Linked DNA regions of Homo sapiens: region 2 is linked to region 1. The links are contacts of gene promoters, found by promoter capture Hi-C in blood cells and fetal thymus (Javierre and others, 2016). All regions are on one chromosome and are shown on one strand. Each heading gives the region's core, a stretch centred on a gene start or on the middle of the fragment in contact. The rest is flanking DNA. Distances are from core to core; before and after follow the strand shown.

Region 1 (7,820 bases), core at 2,037-4,536:
GCATTACAATTCACTATGATTTTTTAGTATTTCAAGTCACAGACACTGAACTTACCTGATCTGCTAAAGTCTGTGGTGAAGAGTAACCAATGCGGCATCCGTGAGAAAGACAGACAAGCTCAGCACTTAATTCTAGAACATGGGCCAGAGGCAAATATCCAATGTAGACATCTTCCTCTCTAAAAGAAAAGGGAGACGTCAGAAACAAAAGTCAGGTGTCGTCTATGCCAAAAGTGCCCTATAATGGGAGCAAGCTTGAAGGCACATGGAAGGGCCCCAGGGCATCAATTTGCTGGTCAAGTGTGTATGTGTTTGTGAGAGAGAGAGAGAGACAGGTGAAAACAGAGGATAGGCAGATGCTGGGGATGGGAGGGAAAAAGAATTACAGCTCAACCCAAAAGCAAGGAGGCGCACACTTGCAGGAAGGAATGCTGTTTCCCGTCCTACTTAAAAGCACTCAGGAATTATAAGCGTTGCTGAAGCAAAGTACTGAGGCACAAGAAACAGTGGCTTAAACAAATAATAATACAGGGTTCTTTTGAAGAACAGAAGAAATCATCCAAGGAGGAAATGGTCTTTACATCTAGTGGGTTGCCAACCAGAAGAGTTAAAGTAGAATCCACAACTATCTGCCAGAAATTTTACAGATAAGACTCTTGTTGTGGGAATTGGATTACATAATAAATTAGATCTTAATATACAGAAAATGTGTAAGTATTTGTATATACTTCAAGAGCTGCCCCCATAACCAAAATATAGAAGGTAACTGAGGCAAACCTGTAAGAAAATTGTTGCACTTAATTTTTTCTGAAATGTATGCATACGTAAGAGACATTCCTCCATCCCCAAGTTCAGTACCATAGCAATTACGTGAGTGTGTGTGTGCGTGTATGTTTGTAATTTCTGTGCATAAAAGCATCAAAAATATCCAACCACTGTACCCTATCGGTCATCAGAATACCAATTGCATCTCTGGCAATGTTTCCTTGACAGTCCCTCAAACTTCCATCTGGTTTCCTCCATCAGTCTCTTCCCCACTCCACTCTACCTTCCACTGCTACCACTGGAGTTTGTATTAACAAGAAAAATCAGAGACCAAATACTGAAGCTCAACAAATACTTAGTGGATAAATTAAGTTACCTGTTCACCTGAATTGTATTTAGATATAAAAAAAACTACAGCAGCAAATACAAGCTGATTAAAACAAAGGATTTACAACTATACAAATTTAAGTTCTGTACTTTTTAAAATATATCTATATGATATATTTTCAACCTCACAACTATAACTATTTTGCCATTAATTTTAATGTCCTTTTTTATTTTTTAAGGAAATGCCTACTACAAACAGACTCTGAGGGACTAATTTAGCCATATATTAATAAAATGACACAAATGCTAACATTATAACAGACATAAATACTTAACTACTCAATGTTACTTTACTATGACATACCCTAGTTCTGGAATCCTTTCTGCCATCCCAGTTATACCAGCAATAATGTTACTATGTGAGATCATGACTCCCTTTGGAAGTCCTGTGGATCCACTTGTGTACATGATTACTGCAATATCTGAGGGCAATGGTTTGCTATGAGGTTGGTTTTCTGCATTGAAGAGAAAAAACACACACATACACTTTCATGAGATTCAGCTGTATCAACAATTTCTTTTCATTATCATCAAATAAATAACTCAATCAAATTGAGTTAATTTAACTCAATTCAACAAATATTAGTTATACTGAGATCAACAAAACAGATCAAGTCCCTGCACGTATGGGAGATATATTCTATTGAGATATACAAACAGATTAACCTATGAAGAAAACTGAAGCAAGACAAGGTGAGAAGATGACAATAGATGCTATTTGGATGGAAAAGCCTGGAGACCGTCTCTGTAGAGTTTCGTTTAGCAAAGGCCTGAATAAAGTGAGGAAGGGAGCCATGGAAACCCTGGAACTGGGAGAAGAGTGTTCTAATTAGAAGGAAATAAGCAAATGCAAAGACCCAAAGGTAGGAATGTGCTCAGCATATCTAAAGACCAGCAAGGAGTGTGGCTGGAACAGAGTGAGCAAGAGGAAGAGTGGCAAGAAACAATAGTCAAGTGGCTATCAGGGACCACACATAGGACCTCAAAGGCCACGGGAAGAACTCTGGATTACGTTCTGGATGTAAAGCAATGTTGTTTTGAACAGGAGTATGTTATTATCTGTGAAAAAAAAGATCACTTTGGCTGCTGTGTGGCTAACTAACTTTACAAGGGGAAAAAAGGTATCAGGGAGACAAGATTATCCCAGTAATTCAACTAAGAAATAAAGGTAGCTTTGGACTAGAGTATCTAGGTGTTTGCTAAAAACTATTCACTGCTTCAGAATGGTGACTAACTTGGTTACACTCAGAGTCCTGCATTAAAACACGATGTGAACCATTTGAAATCAGAAGAGTACCAGCCTAAGGACAACAGCTGAGAAGCTATAGAGGTGGCACAGCAGAAGAACAAAGAGAAATAGGTCATGGTTGGCATTGCTGATATGTCTGAACCACTCCCAGAACTACTCTACATGTGAACTTCTAAATGAGTGTGAAAAAATTATTTAAATGTACTCCCAATAGAATACCCTTCCTCTCCTGTCAGTCAAGATACATTTCTTAAATAATGTTTACACTTGGAAGTCTTTACTTCCAAATCAGCCCTTCACTCCTTCAATGCACAGCACCCTTCTCCAACACCACCACTTCTTGGAAATTACAATCCTTGTGTCATCTGACCTCTGCATGCAGCCCCTGATCCTGCTGATGACTCACCAAGATCTCCTTTCCCTTGGCTTCCAGGAACCACATACTACTAGATATTTTCTTCTTTCCTCTCTGACTAGTCCTTAGTAGCCTCTGAAGCCACCATTCCCTGTTGGTGACCTCACCCCCTACTCCCACAGCTATAATTAAAACCTAACTGCTTCTAGCTTCCAAATCTCTAAGTCCAAACATAACTCGAGTACTAGACTTTTACACACCACTGTCCACAATATATCTGCATCTAAATATCCCACTACCACTCAAATTCCAGGTGCCTAAAATTTGAGTTGAGTGAATGCTTACATCTAATTACTAGGTTTCCAACTACAGAGGAAATGCAGTCCCAGCATCCCAGCAGCTTTTGCAGTATCTCTAAACACTAGTACACTAGCTAACATTTTCTGACGCTTTTTTGAGAATAGGAACTTGTAGAGTCACCATGCCTAGGTGTGCTAGTTGGAGGGTAAGGTTTTCACCTCAGGAAAGGGAAGAACTGGAACAGGGAGTAAAAGGAGGCCTCCAGGTTTAGCCACTCTGTTAACACTTACAGGTAATTCACATAGGACAAGATAAATGTCATTATTTATAAACTAACTTTAAACCACCCAAAACTATCACCATAAAAAAGAAATGAAAACTGAATGTAAAATATTTTAAATTTCAAATAAATACTACCTTTAAAACATTAATAATTAATGTTTATATTTTTCCTTAAAACTTTCTTTAAAGACAAGATGAAAGTATACCTAGAGGGACCTGTTTTCCTAACTGATGTTAGAAAACTGATGTGTCATTTGAGCTAACCTCAGAATCAAAACTTTGGCATAATTCTGGAGAATGTGGTCACCAGAAAGCACAGGTAAGGAATTAGAAAAGTGTAACATACCCATGCTGGCCTTGGCTCCCAGGGCCTCCACTGCAGCCATGGTATGCACAATGATGCCCTTGGGGAACTCGGACCAGGTCGGTGGCTTTCCATCAACAGTGATGATGTGCCGCAGGCGTGGGACCAAAGAAACTATATCCTAGAAATACACCAACATTCATCACGTTCATTATTTTTCAAGCAGCTTAGCGAATAAGAATACTAGTTTACCATATTCGGTGAATCATTAAGTAATTTCTTGCCTCAAAAAAGAAAGAAGAAAGGGTACACTGGCATAATATCACTTTTTACAGATGATTAAGTATTGGTCTGAATTTAAATTATTATTTTATAGCATTAGATTCACTGTGTGTACCCTTGGCCTTTGGTAAAACCCTGATCAAGAAGGGTACTGCCTTATAAAACGGGCATGTAAACACAGGTTGCCTAAACTGTAGAGAAACCAGAAGCCCCTCATATTTTCAAGAGACTACATAAAAATATATGGGGGAAGGAGGAGAAAATTCACATGCAAACTTGTTCAAAATTTTCTTTTTGAACAAGTTTACATGTGAATTTTCTCCTCCTTCCCCCATATAGAATAGCCCAGATATTTCTGGGAGTTGTCTAGAGACCAAAGAAACTCTTTTTACTGTAATATAATTAAAAGTCTCCCTTTTTAACTTCCAAACAATTCTGAAAACTTGTAATTACTTAATGCTTCAGAAGTAAAATAAAAATTACTAGTTTAAAATATAACCCTTCAAAATTACAAATTTACTAAAAGTAAACTAGAAAATAGATGAGCACAATAAGAGAAAAAGTAGTCGTAATTTCTTCAATTTAAACATAGGCATCTTAACAATTTATAACTCTGGATTACTTATACATGAATATATACAAAATCTACTTTTTATTTTCTAAAGGAAAAAATAAAGTATGATATTCATAAAAGTCCACAAAGATTAAGGACTTAAAAGTCATAAAAGAACTAAGTATCAATAATAGGGCTCATGACACTGAAAATTCTAAAGTATCAGACAGTTAGAAAGTAACTAGAGTCCTCACCTTCAACTTTGTTTGTAAGAGTTCTTTACTAGTAATGATGTTGGTCACCTCTGTTTCATTTAATGCATGAACAATGGCTGGACCTCCTAGAGTGGCATATAATGTAACAACTAAAAGGAAAAGCAGCAGCCAGTCAAATATTCAAACATTTAACTACAAATGTAAAGTCTCTGAATGTGGAGATGAATCATAATAACGCATTAGGAGCCCTAAACTGTTAAATCCACAGTCTATAAGTGTTATGTTTTTTAAAGTTATCTTATCATACTAATCAACATTACACCTACTCATCCTCCCCTAAATGCCCCAAGATTTCCAATTTTTAAAGATGAAGATATTTAAATTTTTATTTTGTTTCACTTACAGATGTTACTCTGGGACTACCACATTGTGAAGGAATTATAACTGATTTCTAAGACTTCAAATTCTTAATTGTTGGCCACTTGGCTTTACAATGTGAAAAAGAACATATACAAATAGGATGACACACTGAATGTCAGATTTACGGTGTATGTCAAGAAAAGAGCACAAACAAGTGGCAGTACCGTTTATTCTCAAGCAAAAATATCTAAAGACAAACATTCTCTGAAATGCTGAAATTACATAACATGAATAGTGTAGATTTTTATTTACTTTCTGCCTAACTCAAAAAAGATACACAAAATGACTTTGAAAATAATTCTTTTAAAGCTCCTCAAAAGAAACAATGTAAATCCAAACCTGTGACAACAAAAATGGAATGTTTGTTTAAAAGAAAAGGTGTAGGAGGCCTAGCACGGTGGCTCACGTTTATATTCCCAGCACTCTGGGAGGCCGAGGTGGGCGGATCACAAGGTCAGGAGATCAAGACCATCCTGGCCAACAGGGTGAAACCCCATCTCTACTAAAAATACAAAAAATTAGCCGGGCATGGCGGCATGCGCCTGCAGTCCCAGCTACTCGAGAGGCTAAGGCAGGAGAATTGCTTGAACCCGGGAGGCAGAGGCTGCAGTAACCTGAGACTGTGCCACTGCACTCCAGCCTGGCGACAGAGTGAGACTCCATCTCAAAAAAAAGAAAAAGAAAAGGTGGAGGAATTTACAGCAAGAAATCTGGTGAAAGTGTATTTTCTGTTTCATCTGAAGGATGAGACTAAACATCCACAAATTACTGTCACATTTTGGCACCGAGACCTCTGAACTTATGCTTCCAGAACTATCTCACAGACTGAGCCACCACAATTACCATTCAGATAATTACAATATGAAAACTCTATTGTTTAACCTGCACCTTGAAGTTCACCAGGTTTCAGTATGGAAGTGTTTCGGAGGTCAACTGTTGTTACTGATAGAGGTGACAGAACAAAATTGACAGTAACTTCTAAAGAGGATTCCTGAGAAATGGTATTGGAACAACGGCCCCTAAGTGTAGGTCTAGTTCTCAAGACCTGAAAGTCTCCCATGAAGAGGTTCAAGCCTCACTGCAACACTGATTGGTACAATTTGTCATATAATTGATTTATTTTCCAAAATAAACCAAAAATTCCAAGTCACAACAGAGTTCTCCACTAACTGGACACTGGGTGAAAATTAACATCAGAATTTTAACCTCTTCAGAGTAAAGTATTTCAATAAATATCAGTTAAGTTCATTCTTCCAGAAGATAAGAAAGTCTACATACGCTGAAAATTATACATAAAACACGCCTGTGCAGCTATCATCCACTCGGCCCTGGTCTCACAGAAGATGGCGATGTTGGTCTTTGGTTTCTGACCCAACATCTGTAATCCATTTCCAAAATTAAAGGCTCGAACAAAGACATCTTCATAGGAAAGCCAATTATACTGTCCAAGAATAACCTGATAAAACAAAAAAAAATTTTTTTAATGTAATCAAAATAATAATTTACAGAAGAAACCAGAATATCGTCCAAATGTTATGATGAACCAGAAAGTTACGTTTGCATAGAATTATCTTTTTAATAAAAAGCCAGAAACTGAGTTTGAGTGAAAAATCTATTTTAAAAATTAGCTATTTTGTGACATCTTCTATAACAACTCAAATCTTATATTGTAACTGGGGGGTTTTTTGGCTTTATTTTTGGTTTTCAAAAATATTGAGAGTTTGATAGGCTCGTAAAGGTCAACTGCCTGGCCAAATGGTCATACACTAATAATCTACTTATAAATTTCACCTATTTAAATGATGTAGGTGTTAACTTAATATTTAGCCTAGTACCAAGTACCGCAGATGCCAAAATTTTAATTTCTCTCTATTTAGGAATTCCTAAATGTCAGTATCAGACGGTATAAAATGATTCACAGAAACTTTCTCTATCCAAGCTAACAGAAATCTTTATGATTGCTGAACTTGAATTGCCATACCAAACTCTGGATAAGCAAAAGCAAAGTAAACAAGTTTCTGTTTACATAACCAGGTGGACTAGTTATATTATTCAAAGTCCCTCTATTCAAGCCTTAAATGCTTACTGGCACCGCCAGGTTTTCAATATTTTATCTGTTTATCGTAAGTGCTGGTAATACCAAATATGCATTAGTAAAAACTCCCTTTTGAAGTTTTTTAACATATTGTCTTTAGAAATTTTCCTCAACTTAGACAAAACCATAAATCCCTAATTACATACGGACTGTATAAAAAGCTCCTCTCTCTGCAAAAATATATAGGTAATTAATTCCCAAACATGGCTGTGTCAGTAATATACATCTCAAACACCTTAAAATCATCTGACCATGTTCATTTTATAAATGTAAACATTTAAGAAATTTCTAGAAGAGGTTGGATAAAAACGGAAAAGGATAAATGCTGCCATCTAGTGTCCCATGCAATTACGCATTTAAGAAATAAATTTTTATTTTGATGGATAAAGCAACTGCATTTAAGATGGTACTTATTTACTTTACTGGTCCCAAACTCTCACCTTGCTCTTTACCCCCATGAAATGCTCAGCACAGGGAGCTCCAATGACTTCAAAAGGAGCTCTGTGAGGGTTAGAAGACAGATGACAACTTGGCCAAAATGTGCAGGAACTGGATTATAATTATTAAGAATTTTACACTCTAAAGGTTAAGAATGCACTACCTTCCAGATTCT
Region 2 (7,820 bases), core at 2,771-5,270, 610 kb after region 1:
CATGTAGAACATTAGTTAGGATTCATTTTATCAGAGCAATCTTCTCTTTTTTCCAGGAGTTTTTCCTTTTTTCTGTCTCTAAGATTATCCATTCCTAGGACTTTCCTGCTTTTTGAGCTTGGAAAGCTTCTCTGAATTTTCCTGCCACCCTGCTTTTGAATGTCCTGTGGTCTGGCTCCTGCCCTCCTGAGTCATCCTCCTCCAGTGAAACCCACACAGTTTGCTCTTCTGAAAGTCAAACTGCTTCACCAAGCAGAAGACTGGAGCAAAGCCCCTATCATGTGACCTTGTACTGAGGGACCAGAGATTATCTTCTATTACAGGCACGATTCTCATGTCCCCATTATGACAGAGGTACCTGGTCTTTCTGAGAACCTCTTTGGATTGCTTTGGAGATATGAAGATTAGGTTTGGAGATGCCATGAAGATTCCCTTTCAACATGGGCCTTCTCACCTCTTCCACCGGTATAGGTTTCTGTTTACTTCCCTGATGAGCAGCTCTAAGTTATTTATTGGTAGGTTTTACTTTATCAGTGGTTCTTGTGATAAGTAAGTACCGCTCTCTTTGACTGTGAAGCACTTCTGCATATTGATGTGAGAAACCTGTAGTGTAGTCAGGTGCGCATGGTGGCCCATTCTTATAATCACAGTGGCTTTGGGAGTCCAAGGTGGGAGAATGGCTTGAGACCAAGAGTTCAAGACCAGTTTTGAGACTCCATCTCAAGAAGTAAAGGTGGGGGGGGGAGAGAGAGAGAGAGACAAGAGAGAGAGGAAGAAGAAGTAGTAGAGTAAGAACAAGAAAACAAAAGAAAGAAGGAAAGAAAAAAGAAAGAAGAAAGAAAGAAAAAAGAAAGAAAGAAAAAAGAAAGAAAATCCATTGTCTTTTTTCAAGCCTCTACTTTTTTCAAGCCTCTACTGCAGGGCAACACACTGTTGCCTCCACTTCATCTGTTGCATTCCTTGGTCCCAGACTTCTTAGGCTTTCAAAGATGTGTTCAAAGACTTTGTAATAACCTATGAAACCTTGTGAAAATATTTCCTCCTGAATTCTTCCTGCTGGTTTATTTTCCATTTATCTCACAGAAATACCAGCCAAGGAATGATGACTAGTTCTTTAGGGCCTTGGGCTCCTCTGGATTATCTGGAAAGAGGAGTCTTCCACACCCCTCCCACTGCCAAAGTGGTAGTAGCTCCTCCAAATCACCCAGGAGGAAAACACAGACTTGCCGCCACAATGTGGAGCAGGGCACTCCTAGCTTTCCCAACATCTCCCCTGCCTTGGAGGGAGTTTCCTCTCGTATGGGAAATGGGAGTGACAGGTCCTGTAGAGTGGGGATCTGGACACCAAGAAGGCGCGCTGTCATTTTCTGTCAAATAAAAATGCACTTTTCAGCCGATGGGGGCTAGATGAAGAGGCCCAGGTCCATCCTGGATTTTTGAGCCACGATCACCGGAAGGGAGGAGGCTCATACCTCTGGCACGTCAACAGTGACAGCTACCCTACCCCTGGAGGTGGTGAGAGGAACAGAGCTCAAGGGAGCCTCAGCCGGTCCACCAGAAGGTTCAGTCCCCCGTCACTCCCATAGCCATTTTGAAATATCTTCCCAAAGAAGACAATGGGAAATATCTAGAGAGATGCTGGGCCCGCAGAGGAGGCAAGCACTACCTCTTTTGGAGGGAAGCATATCTGCAGATTTGGCTGCCCAGGCCCTGCCAGGAGTTTTCCAGGACCTCAGACTGCCACAGCACAGTAGGCATTCACTAAACTGTTGTGGACCACATGGTTTCATCACTTTCCTTTTTCCTTGCCTTTCCTTCAGCCAACACTCCTTCCTTCTCTCCCTTCTCTGCAAGGAGCTACAGCTCCGTAGAGCCTGCCCAGACCACTCCTGCTGAAATATCAACTGCACCCCAGCCTTTCTTACCCGCCCACTCACTACCCCACCCTTGGTCTTTCAAGCTTCTCCAGAGCTGAACCTCAGTCTTACAACCAATCTCCTGGCAGGGTGCATTTCTATATTATTTTTTTGCTATTTTCTAGACCATCAGCTCTGCCAGGGCAAAGACTTTGGTCTGTTTCGTTGCTGTGGTGCCAGCACTCTGAATGGCACGTAGTAGAAGCTCAATAAGTATATGTGGAGTAAGTGAAAGGCCACGTGCGCCAGAGTGCAATCGACTCCAGGCGAAACTGGAAGACTAGCCCGGCCGACGATTCAGTGGGGGAAGAGAGGAACAATAAAACAATCTGGTGATCCGCAAGGTTCGCAGGTGTCTCAGGTCCAGAGACGACCCGTGAGCAAAGGAGCCTGAGAACTTTCAGAGGGAGAATGAATGATTGAATGTGAGAATGCGGGACATCGGAGTGTGCCCAGCTCCAGCATTAAGGAAACAGCAGGGAAGAGGGAGGTGCTCCAGGCGCTGCTAAACCCTGGCGGGTGGTGCTAGTGGGCCACTCCCACACGCACTCTCGTCTCCGCTAGTGCAGCCCAGCAGCACAATGGGGCAGGTTCCTTCGCCCGCCACCGGGTGCCCAAGGCTGCGTGCTGGGGCTCAGTAGCTCCCGGCAGAGCGCTCGAAGGAAAGGCTCAGTGTGAGGTGCGACTTTCTGCTTCCCGCGGAGGCTCCGAAAGGCCCTCGAGCCAAGGGCGCCCGAGGACGTGAGGGTGGGCAGGCCAGTCCTTTAGGGTGGGAACCAGCTGAGGGCCAGACCTCCGACGCCAAGCTTGATCCAGCTTTTATAATTTTTTTTTATCCAGTAGAATCTCTTGAAGGGACGATGGTCCAGGCTCAAAGCGCAGAAAGGTTAGGACCTACTAGTATAGGGTGGGACTAGGGAGCAAGGTCAGGCCAAGAGGTCAAACCCTGCTTTGCTGAGAGAGGTGGTCGCACAGGACACCCCGCCCCAAGGCGTTTTCCCTTGAAAGCCCAGGGTAACCTGCCTTCAGCGGACAAGACTGCTGCGGGGCTACCCGGAAATACCCTGAGTTTGCACCCACCCCCTCTAACCGCAATCTCCAGTCAACTTTCCCACTTGCGACCCGGAGGCTGCGAACTTTCCTGGTTCTCTATGGCAATAACTGGAGGATCCCTCTCTCTCCCCAAAACTCACTCCTGAGCAGTGTGCTGGTCCTATGGCAACCTGGTCACCTGGGAGGAGTTGGTCGCCCTGACAACTTCTAAGGTCTTCCCCGCCCCATCCCCCAGAGCAGTTTTTCGGGGCGTCCTGGGGCAACAGGAGGTTTTCTGCCTCCCTCTGTCATTTCGCCCCAGGCTCCTTTTTAGAGGGTCCTAGGGAAGAGGAGGACTGAGAACCGCGTGGTCCCCACTGAGCCTAAGGGTGAGGGGACGGAGGAAATGGGCCATAAAGTGTCCACGCGAGTCCCTGTGCGAGTTTCTGCGTACGAGCGCGTGCCCAAATAGTGAGTGGGGGTTATTTTCCGGCCTGTCAGGGGATCTAGAGCGGTCCTGCTAGCGCGCAGCCAGCCGGTGTTTCCGGAAAGGCCTCCCTGCGCGCCGGCTGAGCAGCCAGTGCCAGGCGAGCCCAGAAAGGTGGAAGTCACGGTGGAAACGCCGGCCACGCGGCTCCTTCTCCAAACGCGCTCTGGGAAGGGATTAGGCGCCCCCTGCACTTTCGCTTTGGGCGTGATTGATGCGAACGGCGCGCTAAGGGCTGCGTAATTAATAAAGATTACGCCGGTTTTGTCGAAACGTTCCTCTTAATTAATGAAGAAGCGGGGCGCCAAGGGTGTTTGATTTGCATTTGGAAAATTCCCTCGGCGGCTCGGGCTCAGTGGTGAAGCGGCCGCTGGGATCCGGGACTAACGGGCAACCGCCAGGCCGAGGCGTTCTTGTTCCGGATCAAGTGTACCCGATCCTGTTCCCCTCGCCCCGAGATCTACCGGGCCGCACTCCCTGGGGCTCAGGGCCCGACTCAAGTCTGTCTCCATCCAGCCCTCCTCGAGTGGGCCTCCTTGCCTTCTGCGGACATTGGCGGGCACCCCCGCCCCCCAGCCCCGCACACTTCCCGCAGAACCTCTTGATCCTTCCCCGTCCTTACCCCATCTAGAGGGTACCTCCAGGAGCCCAGATCACCGATCCTTGTGCTCGGCCAGGGCTTTCGTCGCTGCCCTCTGGGAGGGGGCCGAGGGATGGAAAGAAGAATTTATTCCCTGTCTCTAAGGCCAAAGGGCGCTCAGGGAACGCTGAGAACCCTCCCCGCCCTGCGTGATTGTGTGTGTGTGAGTGTGTGTGTGTGTGTGTGTGTGTACATGTGTGGTTGTTTGTGTCCCTGTGTGGGTCGTATACGTGTGTTTCGGGGAGTGGTGCGTTTTGTTAAAATATTACATTTTCTCGGGCCTTACTGTCCACCTGCTGCAGCCCAGGAAAAAAGAACCTCCTTTCCCCAGCGTTGCCGCAGTGAAACACTTTCGCTTTAACCATAGACTCCTCCACCCTGGTCCCGGGTTGGAGGGGGAAGCAAATGCTCCCTGCCCAGCAGCAGCTGGGGGCGGGGAGGTGGGAGAGACCCACTGGCCGCGTGGAGGGCCCGAGAGCCGAAAAGCGGCTTCAAAGGTTTTGGTAACGACTCTTCGACCTTTATTTATGCCCCTATTAATACAATATCCATCATGTAGATATCGATCTTTATCCTTTAAACTGATACGCTGAGAATCAATTAGCCATGCAGATTACATTTCCTACATATCCAAATGTTAGTCTCTTAGGCTGAGAGCCGGTGATAATATATTTTTGCAGCCAGATAGTATTAGATTTCGTTTAGAAAAAAAAGAAGACGAAGAAGAACAGGAAGAAAGGCTCTCTGAGGCTCCTTCCTCTTGGGGCTACTTGTCTTAACCCGGCTGAGGCTGGGGTGCCCCTCATAGAGTTTTCCGGGGCGAAGAAGCGAGACCGCGAGGATGGTGCGCGCGCAGGGCCACCGTGGGGAGCCGGGCAGCTTTCTGCAAGAGGGCTCTTGGAGGTTGGCGGGTTAGCGAGGGGTCTGCACTTCTGCCGCATGCTCCCTCCAGCTAATCAACGGGTCTCGGTGGCCCCTTTCGATGGGTTTCTGTGTCGGAGATGGTCAGTTTTCATCTTTTTAGAATTTTTCCACCTGCTTCTCCAATCTCCAAGGTTCTGGATCAAAATTATTCTCCTGTCCCTCGCTCCCAAACGTACGACTTATTTAAAGGTTCATCTCCAGAAAAAGAAACTTTATTTAAAAGAGGAAATGGGTGTTTTCTTGGGTGACGGGAGATGAAAAAGTTTAAGTTCTAGGAAGGAACTTAATGCAAGTCATGTGTAGAAATTCAGGAAGCTTAGGCCTCCTGCTTTGGTTGTGGTGAGGAGAGTTTCTCCCCTCTTCTCTCCCCCGCGTTTTACCTCCATTCTTCCCTCCTTTTATTATTTTTTAAAATTTCTTTCCTTCTTTCTCTCTTTTCTTCTCTTTCTCTCTTTCTTCTTTTTCATCTCCTCCGCCTCTTCCCCAATTTTGAAAGAGTGAGGGGTCGGGAGAGTACGTGTCCTAGGGCGGGCAGCCCTCCCGGGGTCTGTGGACTGTGCGCTCTCAGGAGACGCCCGGGTGGAGTTGGATATCTCCGAGAGGCAGGTGCGCGCAGCACTCTTCAAAACGCCTCTCTGCAGTCCCAGGTCCGCGCTCCCCAAGAACTGGCCAGATCGCGCCGGGCTTGGCCCCTGACAACTCTGCCTCCTCCACCTGTTGCGTTTACTCCGTTTAGTTGGCTGTGCAGTCTCTGGCCCCAGGTGTGCTTTTAAAACTCGAGGAACGCGGGTGTTGGACTCATTCGCAGCCTCTTGCCTCTGGTTCCCGTGATCCCACGGTGGCGAGCTTCCAGGCTCAGCGAGGAGATCTGGGTTTGAACATTCATCTCCCATGTTACTCTTTTCTTGCTCCTCGCGTCACTGGCCCCTCTTTCCTGCCGCTGAAATCCATCTCGAGGAGAAATTTTCTGAGACCCAGTTTGAGAAGCGGCTGAGGCTCACTGCGCTGGTTCAGGAGCTGGGGCCGCGTGGAGTCAGAAGGAGTCCAGTCCTGATCCGAGCGAAAGAAAGACCTGTTAGTTCCCCCTTCCCAGTACCCTCCTCCCCCAAGAGCAGGACACACAGCCCCAGCTCTTTATGTACCGGCGCCCGGAGGCAGGAGTTCCTGGAGTGGTCACTCGCCTACTTTTTTGCTCCACGAGTCAAGGAAACCAACGGACCCCAAGGTTTCTTTTATTCACTTCCTCCAGCTCTGTTCCCGCCCCCACCTCACTCACAGCCTTCACCTGCCTCCGCACAGATCAGATTTTCTGGTCTTTCCAAGGCCTAGGCTGCCCGCTCCCAATACAAGACGGTCCCCCAGCTAAATAAGGTCCTTCAACCCTTACCCCTTTCACACACACCAGATTCTTTCACACACACACATACACACACCCCGAATACACACACCCCGAATACACACACCCCGAATACACACACCAAAGAGCAGTTACCGAAGAATCTGTCTTCTAAACATCACCCCCACCCCACCATGAACTTTTACCTAATTGAGCAGAACATTTTTTGGAAGATTAGACAGGACTTACTTATTTTTTACAAGACATCCTATTCTTCCCGCCCTGGAGAATCGGGCGGCGGAATCCTGTCTTCCTTGTTTGCCTAAAAATAATTTTCTCAGACCCAAATGAACTAGGACACCAGCTGCTGTGAGATTTATTCTTCTCTCCCTCCCTCACTGCCTTTAAAAAAAAAAGTACCTCTCTCTTCTTTTCCTCTTTTCTTTTTCCTTTCCTATTTTCCTTCTCTCTTCCTATCTTCCCACAAACCATATGTTCCTTATTGTAAACCCGCTCACACGTTCCCTGGGGCTCCCCCAGCTGAAGGAGCAAACCCACTTCGGCTGGCCTACACCATGTTTCAATGGGATGTCCACATCCTCATCTAGTCCCTTAATCCGAACTCATCCCGACTGATTTTTCGATGGGGAGAAGAGCGGCGCCAATGCTTTTGACAAATAACTGCGGGGGGCCTAATGACTGTCACTGAGGCAGCGGCTGCGAAGGACCACGGGTTTAACCCGGGCATTCACCAATCCTGTATCATCACATCCGGACCGGAAGCTCATGATCACGAACCTGGCGTTTTGATGTCCTCCCCGTGAGCCCCCGGCAGCCTTTCTGTGGGATTGAGGGTTTCTCGGCGTTTGCCCAACTTTTACTGCATCCTGAGAATCACGCCTGGGGCCGGGCGGGTGGCCAGGAACTTCTCTGCTCGACCGTGTCAGCCTGCCAGAGCTCGGCCCTTCAGACGGGAGGAAAAAGGTCTGGGTGGCAGACACCACCCCCGCTCCCCACTAGGTCAGGGACATTATTTTGCATAGATCATAATTTCCTCTTAAGACCTGTGTCTGGCTGAGTATGAAGTCAACCCTCAGAGGCCCTGAGAAGTCCACGGGCCATGAAACCCTTGTGCCAGTGTCCCCAAGTGCGGAGGCTGTTCGCTAAAGGGTGCTTCACAGCCCAGGCCGGTCACCAAAGTGCGACTGGGCTGTAGACGCACGCATCCAAACGGGCTGCGAGGGAGAACTTTCAAGCTAACAAGGGCACGCTCCACTCAGGCCTGGACAGCCAGCCCGCTGTTATTTTCACCTGTAGTGTCTCTGAAACTGGGGGCAGAGGCGCAGAGGGGACAATAGAAGCTATCTCCCCCGCCCACCTTTTTTTTTTTTTTGTCAAATTATCCAAATATCGTCTTCAAGGCTCCCGTTTCATTTCGAACGTGCACAGAGCGTGAGTGGACCCTACACTCGTTCACAACACCGT

Evidence for each region. The method cuts DNA at HindIII sites, captures the fragments that hold promoters and counts their contacts. A CHiCAGO score of 5 or more calls a contact.
Region 2: a fragment that was not itself captured here is called in contact with the fragment with the promoter of ACSL3-AS1 in region 1 in 1 of 17 cell types (M1 macrophages); the score reaches 5.6 in M1 macrophages.

The regions. Positions count from the first base shown.
Region 1 is chr2:222,915,067-222,922,886 of GRCh38, reverse strand. ACSL3-AS1 (ACSL3 antisense RNA 1) reads left to right here and starts at 3,286. Exons shown (of 3, transcript XR_923949.3): 1 at 3,286-3,348; 2 at 3,528-3,657; 3 at 5,098-6,233. ACSL3 (acyl-CoA synthetase long chain family member 3) reads right to left here. Exons shown (of 17, transcript NM_004457.5): 5 at 6,391-6,568; 6 at 4,732-4,841; 7 at 3,685-3,823; 8 at 1,457-1,607; 9 at 56-179. The HindIII fragment of the contact is 9,982 bases long and covers 257-7,820 here.
Region 2 is chr2:222,301,975-222,309,794 of GRCh38, reverse strand. CCDC140 (CCDC140 long non-coding RNA) reads right to left here. Exons shown (of 2, transcript NR_161172.1): 2 at 4,578-6,049. Among named protein-coding and RNA genes, the nearest start is that of PAX3, 6.9 kb to the right of the region's middle. RefSeq lists enhancers at 2,025-2,559, 2,560-3,095. The HindIII fragment of the contact is 2,592 bases long and covers 2,725-5,316 here.